2 separate regions of the Homo sapiens genome follow, and region 2 is linked to region 1. The links are contacts of gene promoters, found by promoter capture Hi-C in human tissues and cell types (Jung and others, 2019). All regions are on one chromosome and are shown on one strand. Each heading gives the region's core, a stretch centred on a gene start or on the middle of the fragment in contact. The rest is flanking DNA. Distances are from core to core; before and after follow the strand shown. Region 1 holds the start of CDCA7 (cell division cycle associated 7). Region 2 overlaps RAPGEF4 (Rap guanine nucleotide exchange factor 4).

Region 1 (6,048 bases), core at 2,004-4,503:
GGATTCACGCCATTCTCCTGCCTCAGCCTCCAGAGTAGCTGGGATTACAGGCGCCCGCCACCACGCCCGGTTAATTTTTTGTATTTTTAGTAGAGACGGGGTTTCACCGTGTTAGCCAGAATGGTCTCAATCTCCTGACCTCGTGATCTGCCTGCCTCGGCCTCCCAAAGTGCTGGGATTACAGGCGTGAGCCACCGCGCCCGGCCAAAACCAGGTCAAATTCTAAGAAGGGATCCCTTTGCAGGAAAATTGTAAAGACATTTATCAATTTATTCAAACATCTGTAGAGCTACCTCTCAACCCACCTTTATGAGCCCCTAATCTTTAGCTCTTAGCATTATACTGAGCCCCACAGGAGATTTTAATGCTAAACTCCTAAAATCCAACCTGTTTTTTTAAAAAAATTAAACTGTACTTCTAAAAGGAAATTTCAAAAGTACAAAAGGGGAGAAAGATTTTTCTCCCTCAGCCAAAATCAAGCTAATGAGGTATTTTTATGTAAGCTTTGGGCTATGTACTGTGATGCTAATTTCACAAACTACAAAAACTGGGCAGGACCTCTACTTCAAGATGGCAGGCTTCCAAGCAGGCCCCTTTCCAATCAAGAGGGCTATCGTGATTTCCACAGAAGTCCTTACAAAGCAAATACATCAAACGCTTCAACAAATGGTACAAGGAGCCAAGTTAAAGATCAAATAGCACTCCAAATGCAGGTGGGATACCGGATTCCATTTTAGCACTCTATTACTTGAGGCTGTCATTCAGTTCTTGTTGCTGTCCCTTTGCTATACAAGACTTAAGTTTTTAAAAGTCCTTTTATAAAGTGCAAATTACTTACATAGAAATGCTTCATTCATTCATAAATACTGAACAGCCTGGCACTGCTCTCAGAAAATGTAATTGGCATCTATCTTGTATAAAAAAAGGATAGTGGTTTGTCATTTCTTAATATTTAACGAGATTTCCTAAGTGTTGCATTAGGTCCTGTGTTTTTATTCCTTAAATGGGGCCATGGAATAGCAGAAGTGATTCCTTACACTGAAAACTTTGAAAGGGCAAGCTCTGGTATAGATTCTACAAAATATGCTAAGATGTAAGATGTCAGGTGACCAGAACATTCTTGCCCTCCTTCTTGGCCTAACATTACGCATTTCAGTCTCTTGCAGATAAAGTTATTTTCATGATGATGGCACTCCCAACATCCCTATACCCCTAAGTAAACTCCGTTCAATCATCTTAGGAAGTTTTTGTCTTTTGCCCTCTTAACAAGGCAGGACAACGTGTAAAAGGTAGAGCTACTAAATATAAAGGTTAGGTGTATGTGTAGGGGGGTGGCTCACACCTGTAATCTCAGCGCTTTGGGAAGCCAAGGTGGGAGGATCACTTGAGCCCACGAGTTCGAGACCAGCGTGGGGAATATGGTGAAACCCCGTCTCTACTAAAAACACAAAAATCAGCCGGATGTGGCGGTGCGTACATGTAATCCCAGTTACTTGGGAGGCTGAGGTGGGAAGACTGCTTGAGCCCGGTAGGCTGCAGTGAGCCGTGACTGTGCCACTGCACTCCAGCCTGGGACACAATGAATGTTGGGAGCTGAAAAGGATCTCAGATCCCATTTTCCAGATGAGGATATTCAAGGCCCCAGGAAGGTGTAATAGACTGCAAGATCACAGGGGCAGGAAGGAGAACTCAAGTCTGCCATCTTCTTAAGCAGCAGTGTTCATCGCATTACTGCAGGAATTACCACCCTTTACTCATCAATCTACCTGCAAGCAGTCAGAGGCCCCAGACAGCCTCAAAGGCGGCATTCTATTGGAAGCTGTCCGAGAAATACAGGCTGAGCTTTAACAAGTCAGCACAAGCCAAGAGTTATTTACCAGGCAAACGTATCTTTGGAGGAAAAGCCACAAAAAAGCAGCAAGGCAAATAGTCAAGACGGAGATGAACTTCTTTGGCAGGTAAGTAATAACTAATACCATTTATAGTAGGCGTTTTTCGTGCCAGGCACTATGTTAAGTACACTTTCACGTCAGGTTTAATTCTTTGCAACAAAGGTGCTATCGTTATTCTCACTTAGCCAATGAGGAAACTGAGGCTCAGGAAAGCGAAATGGATTACTCAAGTCCCATGGTGGCTCAGATTTGAACTCAGGCATGTCAGGTTCCAAGACCAGCTACACATGGTTTTCTTCATCCGGAAAGCCAATGCCCAGCTCCACCGGGGCGGCGACTCAGCTCTGAAACCACGCCCCATCGCACCCACCCCCGCGAGGGTCCCTAACCCCTGATATTTATTTTAAACATGTCATTGTCTTCCGTTTCACCCAACCCCCACTCTTCTACCCTCTCCAGGAGCCCGACCCTACGTTCTGGCTTCCGTTAGAGCAAAAAGTAACGTTCCACTCAGAGCAACGTCCTGCAGCTAAGAGTAAGGCTGGGGGGTGGGGGGTGGGGGGTTGGGGGTTGGGGTGGAGGAAGTAGGAAACGAGCAAATGGTCGGCGAACGCTTTGACCCACCAAGCCCTTTAAATGCACTTAACCACCGCCCGGGACTACGGTCGCTTCACACTGCGTGCGCAGCCCAAGTTCTAGGAGACCGGTTCGCAAGACCTTAAACCTCAGACGCGCTGGCCCTCAGCGGTTAGAAGCGGACGCGTCTCTTGCCGGGCGGGGTGCGCGCCCAAGGGCCACCCACTGAGCGCGGGTATAGACGCGGCGAGCCACGCACTGGCTCCGAGTTGTGTGCGGGAAAGGGCTGGGCCGCTGCGGGACAACCTCCCAGGGGGCAGGCAGGCTGGCTCTGCCTGGCAGGCAAAATCGGGACCGGCCAGCGCTCCCGGCCGCTGTCCGGCCTTTGGCGGACGCACGTGCCTAGGGCTTTCCAGCGCTGCTAGCCATCCTGCAAACGACTCAAGTCTCCACGCCGCCCGCACTTCGGGTGCGCACGCCACGCAGGAACGTCCCCATGGCCCTCAGTTATCCCAGGTGCACAAAATCAGGGGCTTGCCCAAGCGGGCAACGCCTAGGCAGGCCACCAGTTAAGGCAGCGCTAGGCTGCGGAGTTGGAGAGGGTCGGCCCGCGCCCGCCTGCGTCCAGCACCCACCGCGCCCGCCCCTCGGGTTCGCCCGCCCAGCCCTCACCGGCACGCGGCGAGCGTCCATGCTGGTGGCGGGTGCCCAGATCGGCGCTTGGAGCGGGGAGAGCGGAGCAGCCGCGCGGTCAGCGGTCCCACAGCAGGAGGAGCAGCAGCAGCGCGGCTGGCAGGCTGGGCGCGCCGACCCGGGCCCGGAGGGGCGGGGCTCGGGCTGTCTTTCCCGCGTTGGGACACAGGTCCTGCAAGCTGTGGTAACGGCCAGACATGGCGCAAGACTAGGTGGCCCCCTGGAAAAAACACGACCCCCCTATATATTCTGACCTCAAAGGATAGCCTTGGGCACTCCTAAAATCCCCTTTGAGAAAGGGGGGCTTTAGGGGCTACGGGGACCACTCTCCTTGTGCAGCTGCGCGGTCCTGAGCGAGTGGCGCGAAAATGGTTCGTATTGCCCCGGGGTTAGCTGTCTGATTTGCAAGAATTTTCGTGGTGGCGGAGGAAAAGTGGAGTCTGGGGGGTAAAGGAGAGCAGCGTGAGGGTGGCGCGGGTCACGCACCATGGCGTTTAGCACTTTCATTGCTGCGTGCGGTTTACAAGATTTAAAAAATCATAGAATCCAGCACGAACTCCACCCTTCATAATCGAGTTCACCGCCCCTGGATGTAGCACCTCTTATCTGGGAACCACACCATTATCTGAAGCAATAAAATGAGTTAAATCCTGATCTTTCTTTCCAAAAAGCACAGGAAGCCGACTTGTTTACTTGTGGTTTTCAAAGTAGAAGAAAAGCCGCAGCAGCTTGATGAAGACGTCTATAGTATAGTTAACCTTTAACGATTATCTGTTGGGGATTGAAACTAAAGATTGAACAATTGTGGCTTGATGATCTTCTCTGTCTTCAGAATTGAGAACTACCCTGAGTCAGTGCGAACGAGAAAACTTTTCATTGCCCTTTTAACCAAACTTGGCATTACAACGAAAAAATGAAATAAAGCGAGGCTTTTTGTGTGCGTGAAGAGCAAAACTTGCTTCTACAAGAAAAAGTAAATTTAGTTTCTTTAGAAGACACTAATTATACTCTTAACATTTAAAACAAGCGCTTGAAATGAAAACATTCGCATTTCCCCCTCATTTCAAAACTTTTCTCTGGGGAATAATTAATTCCTTTGCAGTAAGAGAGTGCATGGACATACTGTGTTCCTCTCTTGGTGTACTGAATACAAAAACTGTGAGCAAGTAAATAATGCCCGAGGACAATGGATTGGAAGGAGTCTTCCAGCCTTTCTTAAATATACCTACCCAGTAATCACTCTGCCACTGTGCAAGGGACAAAGAGCTCAAGGTCTAGAAGGTGAGTGCCAGGAGGAGAGGCTATCGGTGGGTGGTGAAATTACGGAATTACAGGGCCCTCAGTAAGTATTTGTTGAATGAATAAACATTTGGGAATATAATTTTGTGCCACTAAAGCTAAATATATGAAAATTTGGAATTACTAGATCCATGAAGCAGGGGAAGATTAAGTCACTTTGCCTGTGAAAGGTTCTGATAGGGAAATTTTTAGTCTTCCTGGGAGCACAAGAAAATAATTTGGTGTATGTGTTTTTTAAGGATAAGATCTCTGGTCTATTCGTCTTTTTAGTAATCAGGAAAATGCAAATTAAAACAAGTGTCACTGGAAAGGGGTCCCGATCTAGACCCCAAGAGAGGGTTCTTGGATCTTGCACAAGAAAGAATTCAGGGCAAGTCCGTAAAGTGAAAAAGCAAGTTTATTAAGAAAGTAAAGGAATAAAAGAATGGCTACACCGTAGATAGAGCAGCCCGAGGGCTGCTGGTTGCCCATTTTTATGGTTATTTCTTGATTGTATGCTAAACAAGGGGTGGATTATTCATGGCTCCCCTTTTTAGGCCATATAGGGTAGCTTCCTGATGTTGCCATGGCATTTGTAAACTGTCATGGCGCTGGTGGGAGTGTAGCAGTGAAGACAACCAGAGGTCACTCTCCTCGCCATCTTGGTTTTGGCTGGCTTCTTTACTGCAGCCTGTTTTATCAGCAAGGTCTTTATGACCTGTGTCGTGTGCTGACCTCCTACCTCTTCCTGTAACATAGAATGCCTTAACCTCCTGGGAATGCAGCCCAGCAGGTCTCAAGGCTTATTTTGCCCAGCTCCTATTCAAGATGGAGTTGCTGTAGTTCAAATGCCTCTGACACAGGAGATACAATTTCACTCAGACTGGCAAAATTTAAAGCGCCTGATAAGACCAGATATTGTTAAGAATATGAGAAACTCCCACAATGATGTTAGTAGTGTAAATTTTTAACTTTGCAGAGCAATTTGGGAATAGAGGCGTACCTCATTTTATTGCACTATGCTTAAAATTAAAGGTTTGTGGCAACCCTAAGTATAGCAAGCTTATCAGTGCCATTTTTCCAAAAGCGCATGTTCATTTAGTGTCTCTGTGTAACGTTTTGGTAATTCTTGCAATATTTCACCTTTTTCATTATTTTTATATCCATAATGGTGATCTGCAATCTGATCTTTGCTATTACTGTTGTAATAATTTTGGAGAGTCACAAATTGTACCCATATAAGATGGCAGACTTCATCAATAAATGTTGTATGTGTTCTGATTGCTCCACTGACCAACCATCCTGTCTCTCTATCCTCATGCCCCCCTATTCACTGAGATAGAACAATATTGAAATTAGGCCAGTTAATAACTCCACAATGGTCTCTGAGTATTGAAATGAAAAGAAGAGTCACATATCTCTCACTTTAAATCAAAAGCTAGAAATGATTACACTTAGTGAGGAAGGCATGTTGAAAGCCGAGATAAGAAGAAAGCTAGACGTCTTGTGCCAAACAACCAAGTTGTGAATGCAAAGGAAAAGTTCCTGAAGGAAATTAAAAGTGCTACTCCAAAGAACACACGAACGATAAGAAAGCAAAACAGGCTTA
Region 2 (6,048 bases), core at 1,305-3,804, 320 kb after region 1:
TATGTTTTTGGCAAGACCTCTGTCATCTGTTCTCTTTCTTTACTTAGCTTTCTTTTAGGTCAAAGACAGTAGGGCACAGGGTAATAAAAAATGTTTCTTTCATTCTTAATACTATTATTTATCCACCCCCCCATGCTTCTAGAGCAGTGTTTTCAATAGGGCCATCCTGCCAATCCAGGAGGCATTTGGTAATGTGTGCAGACATTTTTTTGTTGTCACAGCCGGGGTGGGGCATGGTAAGAGGTGCTTCCAGCATCTGGTGGGGAGAGGCCAGGGATGCTCCTAATTGTCCTGCAACAGAGAAGACGTCTCCACGACCAAGAACTGTTCTGCTCCAGATGTCACCAGTGCTGAGGCTGAGAGAGTGTGTGTGCTCCAGGTAATTCTCATTTGCTTCATCTCAGCTTGATCTTCCCCCTCAGTTTTGAACCCTTCCCTTTATTGTGTGCTCTGGCTTTCCTTTCTATTTTATTCCGTGGCTGTTCCACACGTGTCCCCTAGTTCCATGAGGCCAGGCAGCATTTCTCACACTGCTCTTGTGGTCACTGTGGTGCTCAATGGAGTTGCATGGGAGGCTTTTGGGAGGTTTTCTCGGCAAGTGCAGGTACATAAACTAGAATCAAAGGTGCTTAGGAATGAAATCTCCCATACAGAATTATATAATTATACTTCACCTTAAAAAACAAAGGCTTATAAATGATGAAAGGATAATTTCCTCTTTTCAGCAACATTCAGTGCTGAAAACAGAAGCTCATAGACTCACAGAACTCCCATCCCTAGTGAAACCAAAGGACTGGCCAGTTAGCTATCTCCTTTTGCTGCCTGCACCCTCTTCAGCAGCCTCCTACTTTTTTATTTAGACTGGGAAAGAGGGTTCAGAGAGTGTTTCCCACATGCTCTGTTCTTATTGTCTGGCTGATCTGTGGTACCCACACCTGGCCTCCTTGGACCCTTTGAGGCTTTATGGTTTTTTAAAATGTCCCCAACCAACTAATTTGGACTCTGTGGCAGGGGGATTAGAAGCTGGTAGCTGACTGGGGAAGGCAGACTCTTTGCAGGAGGACCCTAGGTCTCCAGCAATCCCAAGAGCCTTGGACTATAAGACGAGGGAGTTGCATTATGGCTTTGTGCTTAGATCTCTTGGCAGCACGAGCTCCGTCCTTTTACTAGCTGGAAGATGATATAGCTGCATGGCACGCAGGCCTCACCAATTCCCTCATTCCTATATTCAGGGGATGAGCTGCTGTGTGCTGCATCTGCCTGGAATTTTAAGAGAAACCCAAGACAGAAGGACTTGTGAGGACCTGCCCTACAAACAATGGAAACATTTAGGAGGGACGGAAAAAGAAAATCATTGCAAGAAGGACATGGGGAAGAAAATAATTTCAGAAAAGCATTTAGAGATGCAAACAGCTGCCTTTAAGCACCATTGCAAGTTGGGTCTCTAATACATACTCCTTGCCCTCTTTCTGTGTCCCACTTACACACAATTTTTTATTTTTAGCATGAGTCTATTTCTGTATGTATGTTCTATTAGAGATTAGTATTTCTTCAACTATATGCCACGTGTAAGAGGTCAAGCACATTTTGAGTACAAAGCTAATAATAAATGAAGATGTTTTCTAGCTTGAATACCCAACTCTCGACAAACCATTCATTATATTTGCTACAGAGACTCACAACACACCTGCCTCACTTTTGCCCCAAACTGAATATTAGCCAACTGTTGTTCCTCTCCGTGGAGAGAAGTCTGCCAGGTGGTGAGGCGACACTTAGTACTCAACTGCTGCAAACAGTTGGCTTCCTGGCTCTTCCTTCCAGAAGCAAAATGAGTACTTGGATAAAAATGGATCTTCTGTCCTCTTTCAATTAAAGATAAGATTTATGGCAAAAGCAACAAGCAGACATTTCAGAAAACAATACAATCTATGAGCAAACTTATGAAGTCATTCCCAGCAATGTGGGTCCTTCATGTTATACTTAGGAACTGGACTTATTTTTATTTACATTGCATATATCAAGAAGTAGACATCTCCTCATCTCCCCCACTCTCCATACACAAAAGGACAATATCTTTTAAAAATTCTCCCTCTGAGGCAACTGGAAAAAGGAGACAGGTCACCTCCCTCCAAGTGTCCCACCTTTCCCATTGTTATACTAGTGTGAGTGATATTTCTATTAAAAAGCTCACTGGTGAGCCTGTGTTTTTATTCCTAAGGCAAAAGTCACAGCTGGATCCTAGCTGAAGCTTACCTCCCACGTTAGTGCCAAGCGGCTCACAGCAACGTTACTTAGTCCCATGACGATGGCAAAAAAGGAATTCAGATTTTTATACTCCTTACAGCTGAAACACAGGAGATGCGTGTTTGAGTAAAATGTTACTTCTGTGTGAGATAAAAAAAATTAGAGTTCTATTTTCTGATAGTCATTAATATTTGTCAGGGCTCATTTATGAGAACAGGCAATGATAGATTTAATGTACTGTAAAAGTTCCACTTGGGTGACCATGTTCTGCTGTTTGATTTCTCACTGTGTTTTTAGAAAGTTGAAGACGTTAGCCATTGAGGTTTGGGATCTGAGAAGGAACTTAAAGACACCTACCTTAGGGGTTGTTATTATAATCCCAAACTTGCTAAAAGCCTTGTTGGACCGAGAGGGAAATATCTCATGGGGTAAGAAAAAAAGTGAAGTGCCCTTGGAGATTTCTAGACCTTTAGCCTGAAGGTGGATATCCTCCTCTGGCAGCTTGAGAGGGCACTAAGGGAGTCTCACAGCTGCAGCCACCATGGCTTCTACCTGCCATGCAAATGCTACTTGTTTGTTGAAAAATATCAACTTATAAGGTGTGATCTCTATAGGCTGGGCACTCAATCTCAAGGAATTTTAAAGCTGAGAAGTAACCTAAACAACTGACCAAGAAATAACCTTCTCTGTGTTTTACTGACATCAATGAAGCTGATCATTTTGAATCTGTACTTACGCCATTATTAGCTTTTATGAATATATGTTTGGGAATGAGACATGTGGAAAAAAACAGAAATTCTTATTAGAATGGTGATGTTTAACACAGGTACTTGGTTTAACCATTTTTTAGAAAGAGAAACCCCAAACTTCTTCATACCAGGTCCCTGAAAAGGGAAAGAATTCATTTTGCAATACGCATAAATCCTTCATCCTGAATCAATATGGTTATCGAAATTGACCATATCATAATGAAATCCTGTTTGGATTAACATTTTTGAAAAAGACTAAATTGTTGCATTTGCTACCCATTGCAAAGGTAGCAAAGAGTAATTCTTAAATTGTCTGTGTGGAGATGGAGAACATATTTCAGAGAAGCTAGTGTGTATGGTCCCACTGGTGAGAAAGCAAGTGAGGCCTTTGGTGTGCTGGGACAATGGGTCTGAGTTCAGGAGCTGAAGGTTATTTAGAAGACACCTGGGGCTAAAGGCAGGTATACAATCGCATCTATGTGTTTGCCTCTGTCCTTTATGTGATCTTGAAAGAACAAATGCAGGGCTGTAGACCTGCCTTTCTAGTCACTGCCTTGTTATCAGCTAACTTTATTACCCTATGTAAGTCATGAAATTTCTCTATGCCTCCACGAATGTAAACAGAGGAATAAGAACATCTGCTTCCACCAACTTCACACAGTTCTGGGCAGGCAAAGAGCTTAAAACAAATATGTTGAAGTTCTCTAAAAATATAAAGTAAAACAGATGCTACTGTCACGAGGTTTCAACCTCATTCTTGTAGATCTCGGATTTAAAAAGTCTACAGTCTTCTTCAGCTGGGCTGTGTAAATAGCTTCTCTACAGGACGGCAAATGTAGCACAGGGCTTAATAATGGTTAAATAACATAAACTAATTTATACTGAAGGCCAAGTCCACCTACTCATTCACCTAAACAGAAGGGAGAGGGATAAGAAAAGCAAAAATATATATATATAAAAAAAAGTCCTGGGTGTTCTGAAAGGCTCTCCCATGTTGCCTCTGTAAAATAACAGGATCAGGCCCCAAAAGATTTTCTGGCTTCCCACATTTGTGTGCAGATTGCCTCTCTCTTCTTGTTGCATTGGGCACTGCCAGGCTAAGGTGAAGAGAGAGAGTGTGCTTCTTCTAACGGGAAAGCACATCTTGTCATAGTTTCCATAATCAGCTCATTCCAAATATGTGAAGGCATTTGTCCCTTGCCATAAGGCTGTGCAGACTACCAGGGAAGTGGCTATACTCTGAACCAGAAATTCACAGGCACCATTTTACCAAGCCTTTCTTAAAATAGCCAGCTTTGCCATATTAACAGATAGCAGCTTTTGAATCCAAGGGATTTGGTATTCTATTGAACCCTCAAGTTGTTGGCAAATAATTCCAGGCATCTGGCAAACTGATATCTATAAAATGTCAAGCAGCCTTTACTTCTTTGTTTAGCCCAGGAAATCAAACTCCATGTTTGATTTTGGGTCAAGAAAATTGTCTAGCTGGGGTCACTTGTGCTCTCAGCCTTCCTGTGTGCTAGAGCTCCCTGCATTTAGAAAGGAAAGAAGTCTCACAGCCATAGGCCACATTTAGCATTTTATTTTTAGCACTGTGGTGATACCAAAAACATGGAAGTAAACAGGAGGTTGTCAGGCATATCTAAATAGCAGGAGAAGATTAAATTCATGTCAGGGAGAACTCTAACTGGCCCCTGTAGTAAAAAAATTGTTTCCCATGAAGTGCTGTTTAATAGAATATTTATAAGATAGATGCTTCTTTTTCTGATGTTTGTAGTGATGATTTTCATGTACCAGGTTAGCTCGCATGCATTTTACCGATTTAATTCTGTCTGGGCTGGATGTGCTGCTGTACATGCATGCTGCACTGCCCTCTACTGGTGAGAATGTGTCATGCTGGACATTGACTTCAAGATCTTTTCAACTGAACTTTCGAAGTATAAGGGAACTTGGTTTACGGAAGGAATTTTAAACTAAAGGAGGCAAAACCGTCTGAGTAGAAAGCAAAGAGCAAAGAGAGGTCACAACTTCGACTCCAGCATCAGTGCTGTAAAGAAGTTAATTTATCTATTGATGTTAAATGCTACAAAATATAGGAGAGATCCATTACAAGAGTTTGGTTATTCCTAAGACCCTGTGTTTGGCCCTCTAGCAGTTCCTAGATCCTGCTTTTCTTTTTAAGGTGTAGTCTAAGAAAACAAAATGAAAACACAGCTCAACATTTTTTTTTCTCTTTCCAAGCTAAATATACTTACTGGGCTGCTATCTTAATAAATTTTTTTAATAGCTGAACACGCTTGCTGAGCTGAGAACAAAGGCAGATCTCAGTGACGACCCAAAACTGAATTTCATTAAATCTCCTCAGGAACAAATCCAAGTTTGCTGTGGTCTTTTTAAAATTATGCCTTCCAAATGTGTGATAGATTAGCTCCAGCTAGAAAATAAAGGAAAACAATTTTGCTTATTTTTTTTTAAATCAAAACACCAGCAGGTTTCTCTATTTGTCAAGACAGTGTTTTACTGGTCAGCAAATGTGAAGTCAATCAGACTTGAAGGGCTTCCATGAGGTTTGTTAAATATATAAATATAAACTAGGTTTTACTGGCTTAATATACACAGGAAGACACGGCATACTGTAAAGATTTTTCTTTAATACTCAAAGGCTTTATAGCATGCTTTATTTATAAGCTCAGTATGCAAAAAAATGGTCATGTGGTTTCCATATTGTAGCACATATTAGCACTTACAAACTAAGCAATGCCAGCAGCCTTTATCCTTGCTATCTCAGCTACTAACACATCTGATCCTGCATCTTACCTCATGCACGCAGTTGAAGAGTTCCCAATCATAAATTGTCATCTGGTATGCTAAATCTTTGGAGCTCATCAGTTCAAAAGTTCCCACTGTTCCAACAGTTGGGCCTTCCTGTTCTGGTAAGGGAGTCTATGAATAATAATGCAAAAACATATCAGAAACTCAACACAGACAAGTATTTAGCACTAAAAGCTTTCAGGAGTTTCTGAGGGGAAAGGATTCTGGAGATGGACGCTTTCAG

Evidence for each region. The method cuts DNA at HindIII sites, captures the fragments that hold promoters and counts their contacts. A contact is called where the count stands out against the background at its distance.
Region 2: a contact is called between a fragment that was not itself captured here and the fragment with the promoter of CDCA7 in region 1, in 1 of the 25 tissues and cell types used here (thymus).

The regions. Positions count from the first base shown.
Region 1 is chr2:173,352,077-173,358,124 of GRCh38, reverse strand. CDCA7 (cell division cycle associated 7) reads right to left here and starts at 3,253. Exons shown (of 10, transcript NM_031942.5): 1 at 3,141-3,253. The coding sequence starts at 3,161. RefSeq lists a silencer at 3,042-3,311 and enhancers at 3,862-3,951, 3,254-4,209. The HindIII fragment of the contact is 8,581 bases long and covers 1-5,972 here.
Region 2 is chr2:173,026,460-173,032,507 of GRCh38, reverse strand. It overlaps RAPGEF4 (Rap guanine nucleotide exchange factor 4), which reads right to left. Exons shown (of 31, transcript NM_007023.4): 24 at 5,811-5,936; 25 at 5,249-5,427; 26 at 2,254-2,344. Among named protein-coding and RNA genes, the nearest start is that of MAP3K20, 46 kb to the left of the region's middle. The HindIII fragment of the contact is 8,411 bases long and covers 1-6,048 here.